2 separate regions of the Homo sapiens genome follow, and region 1 is linked to region 2. The links are contacts of gene promoters, found by promoter capture Hi-C in blood cells and fetal thymus (Javierre and others, 2016). All regions are on one chromosome and are shown on one strand. The core of a region is centred on a gene start or on the middle of the fragment in contact, and the rest is flanking DNA. Distances in the headings are between cores, read along the strand shown. Region 1 overlaps CACNA1D (calcium voltage-gated channel subunit alpha1 D). Region 2 holds the start of SELENOK (selenoprotein K).

Region 1 (2,700 bases), core at 134-2,633, 190 kb after region 2:
AAGAAAGAAAGAAAGGAAAAAAAAAAGAAAAGAAAAAGAAAGGATCCCTCTCATAGCTTCTAAATCACCCCACTTTCCAGACTCCCTGGAACCTATCCTTGGTCCTGTTAGGGCTGTCAGTCTCCACTCCACCCCCTGTGAATAAGGAAGGAGGCCAGGCTTTGTGGATCTAGAGAGTGAGCAGGAGCCGATCTGAGCCCAGACACGTGCTCTGACCTCCCAGCCCAAAGAACACCTGCTGTCTCAAAGAAGTAAGGACTCCAGTGTCTCGCCATTCACATGTACCACACCCTGAGAATGGTTTGGGGTTTCTAGGCCTCCGGGGTTTCCTGACACATGGGAAATACATAACTCAGCTCTAGGTAAATTCACCAAATGATTCTCTGAACTCTGAAAAAATCACAACTCAATCCAGAATCACATCCCTGAGCAACAGTAAGAGGGCTTGGCATGTCATGTATCTGCAGGAAAATGAATTATATAATCTGTTTTCTTAAATACATCTCAAAGAAAAGTGGACCTTCAGTTCTATTATTCACCAGAAAAGTATCCTAGTACAAATCTGTTTGCATGTTTTGATTCCGAACTTAGAATACTAAATTCAGATGGTTACATACAAACAAGGTATTCTTACTTTGGGTCCATATCATATATGGGTTCTTGGGAAAAAAATTATGAAGATAGTAAAAGAGTTACCCTGAGAAGCTTAAGGACATTCATTTTATAATGCATAATTACATACATTATATACATTTTATAATGTATTATAATTATATAATTATATTTTATTTTTAAATTATATAATTATATACATTTTATAATGTATAATTACATACATTATAAAATGAACGTCCTTAAGCTTCTCAGGGTAACTCTTTTACTATCTTCCTAATTTTCTTTTGTAATATTTTATGCCTTTTTAACATTACAAATATAAAAATCCCATTTCTAACAAGCTGCATCACTGTTGTACATTTTCCACTGCTGGGACACAGGTAAGCAGGCATAAGTAAAACTCTACTCTGACTAAAATTCCTAGGAGTAAAAAACCCTGCCAAGTCCTGGTTTATGGCCCACTCACAATGATGGTCACTATCACAAAAGCTCATATAACAAAGCTGCTGATATAGACCCTCTGAACTGATTTTAGACAGTTCTGAATGGCTGAATATTTAGCAGGAAGGTATTATTTATTGATGTGGACAGAGGTGAGGTTTATACAGTAGAAATCTGTTGGCCACAGGGCAGGATGGAGGAAGGGGGCAGGGAGGTAGAGTCCCTGTGATAAACCCAGATAAATCCTTGGCCCTCCTACACCACTCTGGGCTCTTCGTCTGAAGACCTGGCTTCTAGTCCTAGCTCTGTCACTGCTGTGTTCTGAGCTTCAGTTTCCTCACTTCCAAACAGACACAACAATACCTGTTCCGCTGTTTCACAGGAATTAAGCAAGACATTCAGTAAGGCTTTGAAAACACAAAGAGTGGTATCAACGTGAAGTTCAAATGTATAATAGTTGTTGAATCCAGACATAAGAGAGACATTCAAAAGGCAAATGGAAGAGCTTTCTCAAATTATCAAAGGGAGAAAAATTAGCACTAGCTGTGAATGGGCTCTAAGCTGCCACAAACCCGTTAGGATTGGGAGACACATAGAAGGACACATGGGTCCCAAGGCTCAGAGTGATCGCAATGAGCTGGCAAACCCACTGCCAATCCTGTACACTATCTGCTCAGTTGAGAATAACCCATTCCCATCACAACTGACCCTCTGATCCTGAAAATCACACCTCAAGTCCGAGGCACCTTCTATCAAACTTTGCAATGATGGGAAAAAAGTTACTCCACTTTGCATAAGAATTCATCATATTCTAAGAATCCTATTACTAAGAGATTGTTTTACAAAGCTTATTTAATAAAGCTATTGGTAGAAACCAACAGACTTTTGCAAGTGACTAAAAATCCAACAACTGTTATATGCTAGGAGTCTTCTTGTTCCAAACCAGAATTTTGGTTATGGTGTGTCTGATCAAAAGATAAATAAGAAGTGCCTGGATGAAAAAAAAAAAAAAAGCAATAAAGTGTGCTACCCTTTACACACGAAAAACTGGGAAATAAAAGGAGCATATTTCTCTCAGGTGTATCTAAAAGAAAGAGCAGAAAACAAGGGATGGGAATGAATTAGGCCAAAGGAATCAAGGTTGGAGTGACACTCTTAAGTATACCTTTTTCTATAGTTTTGACTTTGGGAACCATGTTAATGTTCTTCACCTTAAATTTTTAAAAATTAAGTCAGTAAGGATGAGATGAAGGGAAAATACCCCTAAACTGAAAGTGATTTGAAACAAACAAATCTGTAATTCAAATGAATACCATAACCAGACTGAAGGAGAAAGACAAAACTAATTCAAATAGCTCATGAATATTTGACGACATACTCTCAGTCTTGGGTAGGATTGGAGTGAGGGATGAACTACAAACAAATGCTGAACTCTTTTCAGTAGCTTTGTTTTTTGCAGTGATGTGGATGAGACCATTCTGAAACTATCTTAGACATATTACAGGATTTAGCCAGTGAGTACATGTGCTAATGCTGCTGGGAGCCAGAGTTCTCGCTGTGGAAGGAGGGACACAGAAACACGGAACAGAGAAGAACCCTCTGGGGACAGGCTGGAATTGAAGGTATAGGTGTGAACTGATGATT
Region 2 (2,700 bases), core at 66-2,565:
AACTGGATTTTAAGAGCAATAGGAAGTCACTAAATTTTAGTGTCCAAAAGGTTTTAGGCAAGGGAACGAGATGATCTCCGTTTTAAGATCGATCTTGCTACAGTTTGTAAAACTGCCTAAGGATGGTAAAAGACTGAACCTGAGATTTCATTTAGAAGGAAACTAGCGTAGAGCAGGTGAGAGATGATGGTGGCATGGTCTAGATTAAGAAAGGCCCTTGGGAAAATTAACGGCCCTGCCCTAATATTTTTGCAGAAATGATCCTTTATGATTGTGCTGCACAAATCCCAAATGAGGTGAAGGATGTTGTCTTGTCCTATTATGAACTTTTCTGGGGAAAATGCTCTCTCCAAAATCAACATAAAATTAGATCTTTGTCAGTTCTAAGTATTAGAACATAAAATCTTAACCAAAGTTGTTAAACTCAAAATAGATTTTCAGCATGTAATTTTCATTTTCTGGAAGGTGATTAGGAATCTTTCCAAAGAGATGACACATGGCTTGAGAACTGGGGGCGGGAAGTCAAAGGAAGCAGCCATTAGGTCTCCACGCTGAAAGAATAGCTAAGTGCAGAGGCCTTGAGAAGGGAATGAAATGGCCACGTTCAAGGAACAGAGGCAGCCCACTGGCTGTAGCAGAGTAAATATCCATGGTATGTGGTCCACATTTACTGAATGTCCAAGACATGTCTTCTAATTCGTCTGTCACCAAAGTGGTCATAAGCAGTCGCCATCAATAAGAAACAAGCAGAGAAAGGGCCTACAGTTCAATTTATTTTTCAGTTGCCTCACAAAAGGCTAAGAAAAACTTAGTTTCTGGTGAACCCAGGTAGACATGCTCATTTTAAAGAGAATGAATATATCTAGGAAGAGCCTGGCAGTATATTCCCAAAGGCGTGACAATAAAGTTCCTTAACGTGTAGTCAGCACCCTCAAACGTCAACACGTCTGGAAAATTCGGAAGCGTTTCCTCCTGTCAGCGGCCCTTCAAGCTACCTCATACAGGGCAGCCTCTCCTACCCAGACCCGGAGCCTATCAATCGACGAGAAAACAGCTTCCCCTCACTGGGCGGTGCGAACCAACTCTGCACGATCAAGTCGGATAGAGGACTGGCAACCGCGGGCACTACAGGGCAGTCCTTAACGTCATATCCGGTTGTCAGCTCGGCCGCCTCCGCCTAACCAGAAGTCGCAGATGTGACGATGCAAAAACGCCCGTCGGGGGCGCGTCTCTTTCAGCAGCCAATGGGCTCTGCCCACCTTCGTCCTCGTCAGCATTTTGTCTAATCGCGGCCTGTGACGCTCGAAGGGCGGGGAGCAGAGGGAGATACAGAAACCGACAGGGGCCAGGCGCCCGGTGGCTCCGAAGCGGGGAAGTGGGACAAGATGGTTTACATCTCGAACGGTAAGTTGAGAGCGGGCTGTGGCTTCGACCGGTGACTTGTAAGATCGGACTCCAGGTTCCTTTCATCGTCGCTCGCTGAGTCTTGAGCCCGGTGCGGCTTCCCCGGGCTTAGCGCCCCGCGGCCGGGCGGAGCTGGACCGAAGTCGCCTCGGCTTGCGGCGCGTCAGCCGATGGTCTCTGAGCCGGCAGTCGGGGGCCGAGGTCCCGCCGGCCTCACGTTGAGTACTGGGAGCCCTGCAACCCCGCCTTCGTGCAGCAAGCGCTTGATTGTGGATTTGCGAGGGTGGTCTTTCCTCTCTCGGGTGTCGGTATCCTTAAAACTAGTAAGGACAATGATGCCGACGCTGTACACGTAGCGCTTGTGCCCTGGACAGTGTTTCAGTTATTTGCTTATCGTCACATTCAATCCTGTTTTACGGGTGGAAACTCTGAGGCTCAGATAGATTAAATAGCTTGCCTGGGCTATTTAAGTCACAGAGGTAACTTAATGGCTGAGTCGGGATTCGATCACAGGTAGGCTGACGTCAGCGTCCTTGTTATCTGTTATGCTGCCTCTGTCTACAACGTGTAAAAAGACCGAGCCGACCTAGGATGATAATTAGATGAAAGCTTTGCATAGGCTTTTTCCCCAGGAAAGGGTAGCTAGTCAAACATGGAATTTTTTGCTCGAATTTCAAGGGGCATGGGAAGAAGTACTATCTTCCCCTAGGAGCAAGTTAATTATTACCGGAATGGAGAATCCGAGAGACTTAATTCTGCGAACCCACAAAGAAGATGACCGGAAAGGAAGGACATGACTGTGTCAGATCAGTGCTAGAGCTGCCTGCCCACCTGTTTGACTCAGGTGAAATTCTTTGGTACAGTCTTAACAAGGAGTTGTGGATCATTGGAACTAGGTCTTGGTTCTATTTGAGTCATCTGTTTTTCTCCAGAGACGAGTAAGGTAGTCAGTGAGGAGCCTTCTGGCTGACTGCACTTTTGCATTTCTTGACTTTTAAAAATCTCCCCTTCTCATCTCCCACTTAAAAATCTTTGAAACAAGTAGATTGATGGACACTACAGAAAAGCATCAAAATTTCATCTTAGTTTTGGGCGCTTTCAGACTTTAGTCTGTTTTATAGCCTGTTTTATAGCCTTTGTGATATAAGCTTAAGGCTGGAAGCTTCTGTATGAATTATTGAATAATTCCTTGTATTTGTTGTGTCTTACTGTGTTCGCATTATTTCATTTGGTCCACATAAGTAGCCGATTAGGACTCTTTATCGTACTTTAAAAGTTGAGAAACACAACTGCATT

Evidence for each region. The method cuts DNA at HindIII sites, captures the fragments that hold promoters and counts their contacts. A CHiCAGO score of 5 or more calls a contact.
Region 1: a fragment that was not itself captured here is called in contact with the fragment with the promoter of SELENOK in region 2 in 1 of 17 cell types (M2 macrophages); the score reaches 7.3 in M2 macrophages.

What each region holds. Positions count from the first base shown.
Region 1 is chr3:53,698,176-53,700,875 of GRCh38, reverse strand. All of the region lies in intron 8 of CACNA1D (calcium voltage-gated channel subunit alpha1 D), which reads right to left. Among named protein-coding and RNA genes, the nearest start is that of CHDH, 150 kb to the left of the region's middle. The HindIII fragment of the contact is 1,044 bases long and covers 862-1,905 here.
Region 2 is chr3:53,890,474-53,893,173 of GRCh38, reverse strand. SELENOK (selenoprotein K) reads left to right here and starts at 1,315. Exons shown (of 5, transcript NM_021237.5): 1 at 1,315-1,404. The coding sequence starts at 1,386. RefSeq lists enhancers at 1,037-1,336, 1,227-2,127. The HindIII fragment of the contact is 7,183 bases long and covers 1-2,015 here.